Linked DNA regions of Homo sapiens: region 2 is linked to region 1. The links are contacts of gene promoters, found by promoter capture Hi-C in blood cells and fetal thymus (Javierre and others, 2016). All regions are on one chromosome and are shown on one strand. The core of a region is centred on a gene start or on the middle of the fragment in contact, and the rest is flanking DNA. Distances in the headings are between cores, read along the strand shown. Region 1 holds the start of FAH (fumarylacetoacetate hydrolase). Region 2 has its middle 50 kb from the start of MINAR1.

The links. Contacts are between HindIII fragments. The CHiCAGO score rates a contact against its expected background, and 5 or more counts as called.
Region 2: a fragment that was not itself captured here is called in contact with the fragment with the promoter of FAH in region 1 in 1 of 17 cell types (activated CD4 T cells); the score reaches 5.5 in activated CD4 T cells.

Annotation. Positions count from the first base shown.
Region 1 is chr15:80,151,540-80,157,937 of GRCh38, reverse strand. FAH (fumarylacetoacetate hydrolase) reads right to left here and starts at 4,939. Exons shown (of 14, transcript NM_000137.4): 1 at 4,803-4,939. The coding sequence starts at 4,883. RefSeq lists a silencer at 4,951-5,510. The HindIII fragment of the contact is 7,995 bases long and covers 3,378-6,398 here.
Region 2 is chr15:79,378,856-79,385,437 of GRCh38, reverse strand. It overlaps a transcript of TMED3 not described here. Among named protein-coding and RNA genes, the nearest start is that of MINAR1, 50 kb to the left of the region's middle. RefSeq lists an enhancer at 3,962-4,171 and a silencer at 4,262-4,311. The HindIII fragment of the contact is 875 bases long and covers 2,595-3,469 here.

The DNA.
Region 1 (6,398 bases), core at 3,690-6,189:
GCGGACTGAAGAACCATGTTCTCAGCATCCTGCCCCAGCTCCCTTGTGCCATCTCTGCTTCCAGAACTAAAAGGAAAAATAATCTGTGTTCCCTGAATGGGAAAGAAATCAAATATCCCTTGGACTGGGGGAAGAGCAGTCAGCCTGGTCCTAGCCACTTAACCTGGGCAAAGACCCCTGCAAAGTTCCCTAGGCATTACATAAATGCCTCCAGTGATGAGGAGCTTACCACCTTACCAGGATGTTGGATTATTTTCCAGGTTTCTAGGCCTTGACTAGGGTAGTTCAGTTGTGCGGTGGAGCATGAGTGCCCAACACACAGTGCTGAGGGCCAGGTGGCTTGGATTAATGAGCTCTGTTGTAGCTCAAATGGAGGAGAGCTCGGGTTGTAAGGGAGCTGCAGGAAGCCAGACTGCTCAGAACATGCAAGGCAAGTTCCTTTCTGTACCACAAAATCCCAGCATCAACAAAGATGTCTTAAATATTTGTTAAGTCCTGGTCTTTGTCCCCACAACCCTGAGCTTTGCTCGTCAACAAGAACCCGAGGGCATGTTTGCAGACTCAACTTCCCAGGGCTCTGTCCTGAGCCAGGCTTCCAGCTCTCCTGAACCACCAGCTTGGCCATTTCAGTGCCAGCGAGCTTAGTGGTGGGATTATTGGCTGGCCTTATCTCCATTGGCTGCTCACTGGGGTGGGCTGAGAAAAGATGACCATTTCTCCACGCATGTCAGCTCTTGGAATCGGGGTAGACCAGAGCCATACTCCTCATCTGAGGTCCCAGCAGAGCCTACCCTAGAAGAGGCTGCCTGGAGAGCTTAGTTACTCATTCTCAGCCCCACTGCCAACTCCCTGGGCCTCAGTCTTCCCCTCCTGAAAATGGCAAATCTGCTTTAGGCAAAGAGCTGAACCACCTGAATCCAAGTGGCTTTCCATTCAGGGAATGTGCAGGGCAGACCCTTGGACCACATCTCTGACCCTGGTCCCCACACCCCAGCTGAAGGCAAGAAGGAGTCACCACCAGTAAGCAACTTCCAAAATGGGGTCACAAGTGCAGCTGCCTGCTGCCTCAAATGCAAACAAAGCCTAGAAGCTTCAAACTTGTGCTTCAAACTATGACCTGAGGACCCAGAAAAAGTCTGAGAGAGTGAGTCCCTCTACTTTCAACCTTGGGAGTTATTTTCTTCAGCACAAAACTAGAGGGGGCTCACAGGTCAGATCCAGGATTCCTGGGCTCCAAGTCTGCTCCCTCATTCACCATCTTATCACCTTGGACAAGTCTCTGGGCCTCAGTTTCCCATCTGCAACTTGAGGGAAACAAACTAAGGAGGGAGACCGCATTTGTCTAACTTCAAGAGAATGAATGTGCATTGCCTTTGTTTTAAAATAGTTGGTCATATCTGATATAAAGTTGTCCAAAGGAAAGCATTACCCAACTCCCAGCCTGACATAGAGGGGGAAGCATGGGATTGGTGTGGGCGAAGGATTACCCAGGTGCCGAGGCAAGAGACTGAAGGCATAAACTGTAGCTATACTGCTATACAGTTGTAATACAAATTAGATATACAGATGATCATGGACAATTATCGATTATTAGTATAAACATTATTAATCATTAGTTTTTAATATTACTCTTTATTGTAGTACAATATAACCTAGGAATAACCGGTGGGTATAGGGTCAGGTACTGAAGGGACATTCTGAGAAGTGACCTAGAAGGCAAGAGGTGAGCCCTGTCACACCCGCATAAGGGCCGCTTGAGCGCTCCTTGGTCAAGCGGTAACGCCAGTGCCTGGGAAGGCACCCATTACTTAGCAGACCGCAAAAGGGAGTCTCCCTTTCCTTGGAGGAGTCAGGGAACACTCTGCTCCACCAGCTTCCTGTAGGAGGCTGGATATTATCCAGGCCTGCCCGCAGTCATCTGGAGGCCTAAACCCCTCCCTGTGGTGCTGTGCTTCAATGGTCACGCTCCTTGTCCACTTTCATGTTCCTCCTGTACTCCTGGTTCCTCTTTGAAGTTTGTAGTAGATAGCGGTAGAAGAAATAGCGAAAGTCTTAAAGTCTTTGATCTTTCTTATAAGTGCATAGAAGAAAATGCTGACTTATGCTGCCTTCCCTCTCTGCTTCGGCTACCTTAGAGGGAAGAGCCCCCGTCCCATGATCACATGACTTGCTTGACCTTATCAATCACTTGGATGACTCACCCTCCCTACCCTGCCCCCCTTGTCTTGTGTGCAATAAATATCAGTGTGCCCAGCCATTCGGGGCCACTACCGGTCTCTGTGTCTCAGTGGTAGCAGTGCCCCGGGCCCAGCTGTTCTCTCTTTATCTCTTTGTCTTGTGTCTTTATTTCTTACAATCTCTCGTTTCCGCACACAGGGAGAAAACCCGCTAAGCCCCGTAGGGCTGGACCTTACAGATTGGGAGGCTGACAGATGTGGGGATCAACCCCATATCTGCCTCTTACTGGCTGTGAGATCTGGAGCATGATGCTTTGCCTCTCTGGACCTCAGTTTCCTCATCTGTAGAATGGGGACAATAACTTCACAGTAGGTTTATTGTGAGAATTTAATTAATATCTGTAAATCTCTCACCACAAGAACAGACACAGGGTAGACGCTATTCATGCCACAAAGATTTAGAGAGCATCTTCTCAGTACCAGCATTACACAAAGGCTGCTGAGGCCCTGGGAACAGTGACGTGGTTCCTTCTCTCCAGAAGCAAAAGGAAACACAGGGTGTGGTGAGAGATAACCAAGGCTGGGCCGCAGCGGGGAGCTCATTCAGAGAGGGTGCTTAGGAGGTGACATTTAAGCTGAGTCCCAAAGAGTGAGAAGGGGCCAAGCATATAGAGAGCAGAAGGACGAGTATTCCAGGCAGAAGGAACAACATGTGCTAAGGCCTGAAGGCAGGAAGCTGCTCTTAGCACATCTCAGAGACTCAAAGGCAGCCAATGTGGCTGGAGAAAGCAGAGGCCAGGAGGCAGCAGCACAGCCAGACCACGGGGACTTTAACAAGGCACCCGGCAAAACCAGCTCCACACTACTACAACCCCGTTCTCAGAGGCCACCACCCCTACCTTCACAGAGAGCACCCCTGTACACCTTACTAGTCCATCAACCAGAAATGGAAGGAAGGCGTCTCCTGTGTCTTTGATGCCAACTCGGAGCCCAGGCAAAATCTGGACCAGAGTTGGGGTTCATAAGCATTCGCTGAATAAAAAAAAATGAATAAAGTGATGGCAGGATTCATTGTTATTCCACTCAAATTAGGAAAGGCTGACTGCTGACATGGGGGAAGGGAGGTTTTGCCTTGGCAACTAGTCTTGCCTGGCAAGGCAGCCATCACGGTTGGAATGTCCAATGCCTGCAGAGAAAGCTTCAGAAGAGGCTTGTTCAGCTGGAAGGCCAAAGGGCCAACTCTCCACCCCCAGCACTGTATCAGAGGACAGCGGAATGGGGCTCTCTCTTCCAGACATCTGTAGTGGCTGCCCTGCACATTCTGATGTTGAAACAGCGGGACATGGTGTCTGAAAACACCTAGCCACACTCTAACGGATATTAATTCGATTCCCCTGAGAAAGCAAGTCAGAGCTCCCTACTGGGGTGTGCCTGCCTCTCACAAATGTTTCTGTCTAATGGATTTGTGCTCCCAGGAAAGGTGAGGGAGGACACATCTGCCGAGGGCAAAGTGTTTGAGGAGGGCAGAGGGAGGGCTCTGTCTGCAGAAAGGTTGTTGGCCATCACAAGTTAAGATTTAATGTGCCTCAGATTGTGTCCTCCAGGGGATTGAGTGTCCACTTTCTGTATCCTTGCAACATCTGGTCAGCCCGGCCAGATGTGAAACCACAAGTTGACTCTTCTAGACCAAAGCACTTACCGCAGACAGGCCCACAAAAGGCCAGCCACTTGCATCCAATGACAAGCCATGGGGGAAGGAGGGAACCCCACTTTCCAAGAAGAAGCCAACTGCCAGGCCCCTCGTTTAGCAAACATTTCCTGATTCTGGGGTTCTATGGCTTACAGAGATGAATCAGGAGTTTACCTTTAAAGTTGGGAGCAGAAATCTAAGCCAAAAATATCATCAACAAATCCAAGGGAATCTGCTTTTCCAACCTAGGGAACCTCTTATTATCTATTTGCTGATAAACCCCCAGTTTTCAAATACTTCTTTCTACCAATCAGACTACACTGACTTAGTCAAAGTTTGTTTCCCTGCCCTCTTTCTTCTGATCAGTAGGGGAATGCCAGGGAGCCCACACCAGGAGCTGAAAGAATTTCAGCTATAGGCAGAGACACTTGCCATCTTAGATCTCACAACTCTAAGCCAAGAAACGCGCGTGCCCCTCTGACCTGCTACGCATACCGGGTTATCATTTCCCGGGTTCTAGGGTTAGGGGCTATCCAGCGAGATGAACCACCAGCCCTGACCTGGCCTCTTGGGCGAGAGAAACACACCGCAACCACCTCGGAGTAGGCAGCATGCCTGTGTGCTGCAGCTTCCGGTAACAGAATCCTGCTTGCTCTGCTTGTCTGGGAGAGTGACACGATTCATTTCATTTTGCATTTAATTCTCAGCAAACCTGCGGACAATGAGGCTGAAAAGTTAAACAACGTGCACAGCTAGAAAGTTACGAGGCGGGACTCGAGCCCATAGGCACTCTCACGGAACGAATCTTAAGAGAAAAATGGCACAAGCCTCCATCCCGCCCCTCATTCCACTCCATTCCACTCCACTCCACTCCACTCCACTCCACTCCACTCCACTCCCTCCCCGCGCCCGGACGCCAAAGCCCCACTGCTCACGTCGCCTCTGGTCGAGAAGACGCCGTAGGGCAGGTTGTGGATGGGGAAGTCGGAATCCTCGGCCACCGGGATGAAGGACATGCTGAAGAGCACCCGGCACGGCTGCGGGCCTAAGGTGGCGTGCGGAGAGCAGGACTGAACTCGGCCGCTGTGGTCAGGCCCGGCCCCGCCCCCCTGCCCGCCCCCACGGCCTGTCCGGGTGACACAGCAGGGACCCCGGAGGCTCCTACCTGACTTTTGGTCTCACCGTGAACACCCCGCCCCCGAACCCCGAGCCCTGCCCCTCCCCCCTACCCTGACCCCCGCCAGCTCCAGGTCCTCCACAGTCTCGCCCGCCCTTCCAGAGCCCCGCCCCGCCCCTGGCCCCGCCCCCGTGGGCCTCAGGTCCTCCAGTCTCTCCTCCCTCCCTGAGCCCCGCCCCTCCCCTTGCCCCGACCCCGCGAGCCCCAGGTCCTCCACAGTCTCACCCTCCCTCCCTGAGCCCCGCCCCTCCCCTCGCCCCGCCCCTCCCCTCGCCCCGCCTTGCAAGCCCCAGGTCATCCAGTCTCTCCCTCCCTCCCTGAGCCCCGCCCCTCCCCTGGCCCGGGTACCCGAGAGTCCCAGGCCCTCCAGTCTTGCCTCACTCCCCGAGCCCCGCCCCTCCCCTGGCCCCGCCCCCGTCCTGATCCCCGCCCTGTCCGCGAGTCCACGTGGGGGAGATCTGGTTCCAGCCCCCGCTCGGGGCAGCTAGCTGGTCCTACCGAGAGCAAACCCCAGCTTAGCATTTAAGGCTCTGCCCTGCATGACTCCAGCCTCGCTCGCCCCGGCTGCTGCCCTGCTCTTCAGCTCAACAGAACTCTTGTCCGCTTCCTGGAAACACTTTCTCCCCAAGAGCTGCTCCCTGAGCTTCAGAAGAACACCCAGTCGCGTCCTTTCTGCCTTCATACCATGATGCTCCGTCCAGCTATGACACTTCCACTTGTATGTCAGAGAAGGGGACAGTTAGGCCTGTTTGGAAGGCTTCAATTAATGAGAATTAATATTCTAAAAAATATAACTCACCTGTTTCACATGCCAGTAGTAAAATGACGTTGACAAGATGCTCAACCTTGGACAAGTTACTTAAACTTTCTCTACCTCAGCTTCCTTCTCTGTATAATGTTGATGATAATAGTTCCTACTTCACAAAGTTGATATAAGAATGGAATGAATTAATATTTGTGAAGCACCTAGAATAGTGCCTGGCATATACAGGTTATGTGTGTGTGGAAAGAGAGAGAAGGGAGGGAAAAAGAGGAAAGGAGGGGAGGGGGATAAAGGAAAGGAAAGATAAAAGAGAAATAGGAGAAGAGAGAGAGGGAGAAAGAAAAGAAGGAAGACAGGAAAGAAGGGAAAGGCAGACTATCTTAGGGTGGGTTCAAGGTGTTATCTAATCACTCATGTGCAGTCAGCTGCAGTTTTTTGAGACCATGCCACAGCCAGGACACTTGGAACACACCGGAGAGTGTGTCGTTGTGTTATTGTTGGTGTGAATGATTCAGGTACACTTTTAAACAGCCAGGATGCCGGCTGAAATCTAGAAAAGTAGACGATAGTCTGGGCAAGGGTTCCCTGAAG
Region 2 (6,582 bases), core at 1,783-4,282, 770 kb after region 1:
ACCGGCAACTGGGTGGAGCCTGCTTGAGATGGGATGGAGCCCCAAGAATTTGTGAGGTGCTGTGGAAGTGGGACCCACAGAATCAGCTCCCTGGATTCTGCCCCCCTTCCTAGGGGTAGGTGCGGACCTCTCACCTTGCCTGAGTTAGACACATCTGATGGGGATCCCAGGGCCAGAGTATATAAAGCTGCTGGGTCTCTGTGCATGCCTGAGCAGTTACTCTGCCAAGACTCCACACAGTTCTGTGTGTCAGCCCCAGGGCCTGGTGGTGTGGGCTCACAAGGGCATCTCTTGATCCACAGGTTGCAAAGATCCGTGGGAGAAGCATGTTTTTCCAGGGTCACACAATCACTCACCACTTCCCTTAGCTCTGTGTCACTCCCAGGTGGGCCATCACCCAACCTTGCTCTTCTTCATTCTCCATGGTTAAGTTGTTTCCCTAATCAGTCCCAATGTGAGAACCTGGATATTTCAGTTGAAGGTGCTGTATTCACTCACGCCTTTCATTCCTCTCCGTGAATGCCACGGACTGCAGCTGCTTCTAATTGGCCATCTTCGCCCCTCTGCTGTTCATTTCTTATACAGATGAGGTCTCACTATGTTACCCAGGTTGGTCTCAAACTCCTGGGCTCGAGCGATTCTCCCACCTCGGCCACCCAAAGTGCTGGGATTACAAGCATGAGCCACCACACCCAGACTGGGTTTTTAAAAATATGTTTTATAAGGTAAAGGTCAAATTTTATTTGATTTTTCTATATGGCTACCCAATTATCTGCTATTATATCCTACCTTCTTCCTACAATCTCATCACCTACTTGAGTATACACATGGTAGACAAGAGGGGAACTTTTTGAGTTTGATTTCTCTTTGTCCCACCAGCTATACTGCCAGGGAATCACAGCATAGTCTGTGCCTCTTGGCATCGCATATGAAGCCCTTCCCTATCTAGCCCTTGCACCATTTCCAGCCTCATGTCTGACCAATAGACTCCCCCAGCTGCATAAGGCCCCTCATCATTCCCAGATGTGCCACACTCTTTCCTATTCCGACAATGATGTATATATCTTTGCCTTTACTTGTGGCATTTACACGTCTACTCATTTTTCAAGATCCTACTCAAATATTACCTCTTCCAAGAAAACTATACGAATATCCCACACTACTATTTATTTCTACCCTGTTCAGAATCCCTCCTATCCTTCAAGTCCTTTGTTTAGTATTAATCACTGCCTCGAGAGAGTTCTGGAGGTTTTGGACTGTTGAAGGAAAGGGAAGATGTACCTTATTGGGTACCTGTGACCTTGCCAATGTTTGAGAAGAAGCTTTTAGAACCTCTGAGCCAGCTCAGGTCACACCACCATCTCCATAGGAACACTGAATTTCCTCCCACAGTTTTGCTTGATGGAACATCCAGGAGCTCTTTGATGATGGGAGGTAGGTTTCTCCGATCTCTTCTCTGGGCTGAATCATGCCCCAGAAATAGGGCCATGAATTATTGGGGTCTTAGAGCTTATGCAGTAAAGGATTAACCCAAAGAAAGTTTTGGCTCTTTACCCCCAGTTTCTGGAAGGTAACATTTAAGCCCTTGGAATGTCCTGGCTTTCAAAAGTGTCTTTATAAACCTAGGACCTTGGGCCATGCCAGATAGTCTGTACTAACCATAAGATTTATGGTGAGGTCCTTGGACAACACAACATCAGCTTTATCTCTGGAGGGGCTAGAGATCAAAGTCAGTCGTATGGTGGCTAGCCATATCTATGTGACTGATTCCTCAATAAAATCTCTGGACACTGAGACTCAAGTGAACTTCCCTAGTTGGCAATACCCTAGGCATATTGTCACACATCGTTGCGGGGAGAGATAAGTGCAGTCTGTATGACTTCACTGGGGAGCGACAAGTGGGAAGCTCCATTCCTGGTCTCTCCTAGACTTTACCTTTTGTACCTTTTCTTATTGTTGATTTTCAAATGTATTCTTCTGCTCTAACAAACTGTAACCATGGGTAAATTGGCTTGCTGAGTTCTGTGACTTCATCTAGTGAAACTCTGAACCTGAGGATGGTGTGAGGGACCTTCCAAACTTTCAGAGCTTCTACTCAATACATTTCTTTTCTCCATCTAAGGGCACAAAGGATCAAATAGATATAATCTTCAACAGCCTTAAGACATTTTCCAAAACAAGATAGCAAAGGCAGCCACATTGGAAATCGGGTAGCTGGATGGTCCCTGAAGATCAATGACTATACTGATTACCACGTAAGCAATAACTGGTGCAGGTGAGAGTGGACAAGGCAGGAAGTGAAGTGCACCATGGCAGTAAAGCTGTGGGTACCTGGCGATCTACAGGCAAAGAGCCATGTCCCGTGGAGCATGCACAGGAGGTAAACAAGCAGTTGGAACAGGTAGATCCCAGATGGTGATCACACTGGAACCCTTAGTGGTGGCGTTGGTGTTGGTGAAGCACTGGGACCCTTGGAAAAGAAATAAATCGTGTTTATGCCCTTGTAATTGACTTTGTCAATGGGAATAAAGACTATATTGTGTTGGTAAGAACAATAGTATGAGATACCCATGAAAGATAATATAAAAGAAGCTTCCCTGCACCTATATCTGAAAACACTACTTCACAAGTAGATGATCTGATTGAAATTCAGGATGAGGAGTGGCAGGAAGGATAGGTGGCTGAAAAAGCCATTAGCCATACTGGTAGAAGTTCAGAGTGAAGTGGAGGACATAGAGAAAGGGATTAAGGTTTCCAGCCAGGAGTTTAGAGGGTAGAGGTAGTGAACTTCTGAGCCAAAGGAGCTGAGCACCCAGAAGAATTGTGAAGGGCAGACACAGCTTCTGGTAGCCTGGGGAAGGCCAGAGGGCCACTGTGGGATAGGTGCTGCCAGTGCAGGCCAGGCATCACTGGAAGAATGACCTCTCCCTTTGCAACAGAACTTTAGCTATGCATTCTGGCATTGGGCTCATGTGGGTATCAGCAAGTAGCAGCTCCAAGCAGGTACTACTGTCAGCCAAGAGAAGGTAGGGCTAGTCACAACTATTTTGTTTTTCAGTGAGGCAGAACACAGAGCAGAGTCTGGGGGTCCAGCCAGCTTATAGCCTCCCTAGAAAGTTCCTTCCAGGAATAATGCCTGCTAAGCTGTTCATTCCAGTTCAGTTCCTCAGTAAAGAGTCAAAACTCAACAGTACCATGAACCCATGACCTGCGCATGGCTTGCATTGTGGCCTTGATGTCTATCTCTTCCTAGGACAGGCCTGCCATTCATGTTGCTGAGGACTGCCGAGAGGATGGGGTGATCTTCATGTCCATAGCTGCAGAGCACAAAACCCAGAAGGGCAGAGACTTCTTCCTGCAAAGTCCAGAAAAATCTAAGCCCTGTTGAATAATGAAGCTCCGCTCAAGCAGCTACTTTGTACACAATGCACATGATTTTACTAATGGGGAAACTGGGGCCCCAAAAGCTTAAATTGCTTCTTCATTAGTGATAGAGCTGGTCACCTCTAGGCTGTGATGCAATATTTTTAAGTCCATATGGATACTTCTGACAGCATTAAGACCCCAGTGAGCTCTGGAAGGAAGAAGGAAGGTGCTTTGAGGACAGGAAGGGCAGCTCTGACATTGTTAAGTCAACAGTCTGAGTTGACTTTGCAATCACAGGACACACAGCCTTTTAAACCAGTGAAAGAATCAGGCAAATGCAACTGTTTATCACCCCAGGGGAGAGCAGGTAGCTCTAATAAGACCAAGCCAGGTGAGAGTGGCTCCAATATGATTTGTCTTCTTTTGTCCCTGTTCTGATGAGATACCAGGTTAAACCTGCCCTCTCAGCCTGGGCACCACTGGGCAGGGGAACAAACCTCTGTGACATTTAGCACTTGTTCTAGACAAAAGTTGCCCAAAAGTGCTAATGGTTCAGAGGAACAATTAGGAGTTTGACTACAGATCACCTGCTACCTCCTTACCGCTCCAGAGGACCTTTTAACCTTCATCCTGTTTTGCTAAGTGTGCATCTCTCAAGCTGTTCATGCTGAAGTGAGCAGAAAATGAGACTAAGAGACATTCACCTTAGCTTCTGTCTGTTGTGGGTTTGTCTCCTTTGGTTCATGGGGTCTGTGTGCACTCTGCCTTGGCTCAGGTTCATTTGTTCAAGGCTGTTAAGGTTACAGACTTAACTGGGTTTCTTTCCTGCCTTAGAGCCCACCAACAACTAGAGGATGCTGCCACCTGGTGGTAGCAATCGCCTTGCATGGGACTCTATACCAGTGAGCATCAAATTGCACTAAAAAGCTAAGATTTTGCAAGAATACCCCTTGCACAGAGACTTGGAAGGGAATCAATTTCCAGGTGCCTCGACTGTCATTCTTAAAATCTGCCTGAAAACAGATTGGAATGATCAGATACAGTCTCCTTGCCCATCTTCTCTTTAAAATGGCATTTTTGGACAAAAAAGAAAGACACATCCTTATCCATCCTGAATCTTACTATTGTGCATTGCCCTGAGCTGTAAAAAAACTGCAGGATGTCAAAGGGACAATTTAAAATACTGTCTTCAAGGACAACTCCATTAGTGATTAATCAAAGCATCATAGGCTTGTCTAGGATTTGTCTGTGTCTGCAGGTCTGGGAGATATTTCTGTGAGGCTAAGTGAGACATCGGAGCCTATGTTGGCCTGTGCTAGAGTGTTCTGAATTTGGATATATTGTAGAGTACCGCAGTGAAGGGTTTCACCTCTTCCATCCCCCAAATATTGCCAAGTAGAGCAGCACTCTTGAGGGAGAGTCCTCTGAAAACATAAAAATGAGCCCCAGAAAATATACCCTCTCTCTCTCTATATATATATATATATATAAAACTATATATATGTAACTACATATATACAACTATATATATAACTACATATATATAACTATATATAACTATATATATAACTATATATAACTATAACTATATATAACTATATATAACCATATATAACATATATAACTATATATAACTATATATATAACTATATATAACTATATATATATTTGAGACTCTCTTTATATATATATGTGTATAACTCTCTCTATATATATATAGTTGAGACAGAGTCTCGCTCTGTCGCCCAGGCTGGAGTACAATGGCACAATCTAGGCTCACTGCAATCTCCACCTCCAGGTTCAAGCGATTCTCCTGCCTCAGCCTCCCGAGTAGCTGGGATTACAGGTGTGTGTCACCACGCCCAGCTAATTTTTGTATTTTTAGTACAGACAGGTTTTCACCATGTTGGTCAGGCTGGTCTCGAACTCCTGACCTCGTGATCCGGCCCCTCCCTCAATATTTAAGTGATTGCTTTTAGACATATATATACCAAGGACCTGCACATCTTAGTGATGCTGATACTTTTAAGCATGATAAGAATGTTTTCTGAGCTACCAGAATTCTCCAGTGTACACTGACTCATTCCTGCAGATAAAAACCTTTTGTGATCTTTCAGATTTGGTGTGTTTCATTCAATAATATAGTTAAAACCTATCACATAACACATCATATTATGAAATATTTATTCCAATTATTCTGCCATTACCTTATTTCAGCTTATAAAATGTTTAATATTTTTCTCTCTTTTTAAGAAAAAACAAAATTATATGCTAGCTGTCAGACTGATTCATTTATACACTTTCATTAAATACATAAGGAAAGTTTGATCAGTATATCTAATGTGATTAATAATTTCTGACTTTATACATGGTTCTTATTTGTTAATTATTTCAAAAAGCTAGCCACCACTGTTTAATACACAAATACATACACATTTTTCAAATAAATGCCTCATATACCTAGCTTCTTAAAGAACAAATTTTAGCCACACTTTACATCGCAGTAATATTAGAGTAATTATTAGATATATATCACTTCATTATTGATTGCTCGTAGTAATATATCTTACAAGATGTGCTTTTAAGTTATTCCTTAATTGTTCTTTGGAAAATACTATTTTTTGAAACACATATTGAAAAATAAAGTCAATCCTTTCTAGTTTTATTAAATAAAGAAAGTAAACCTAATGTGACTGAATACTTTGCCAACAAGAAATTGGCTTTGCTCATTAGGTTATATAGAAGATATTTTCCATCAACTGAATAAGCTAAATCTGCAGTTCTAAGATTTCAATAATGATAAAAATTATTTACAAAGCAGGCAAGACAATTAAGACATTTGATAATATTGGACTGACAAAGGCATACTGAAAGTAAAATTTTAATTTTCCCCACTCTTATTGATTAAATATGGTGCCTGTGAGTAAAGGGGCAACAGTATAATTAATAGTCACTTAATACATGTTGGTAAAGTTTTTTGGTTATATGTTCCAGGAATATAAATAAGAAATCACTTTATGAATGGGAAACATCATTTGAAAATAAGGTGTTTTCCAACTATTTGATTTCAACAACATTGCAGAAAGACCTAATTACGTCATCAACTGATAATGATAGATAAGTATATCACTTTTGCCATATTACTTAGAATTCCAAGAATTGAGTCACAATTCTAAAACATAATTTCTATTCCCACCTCCATATTTCTGAGAACAA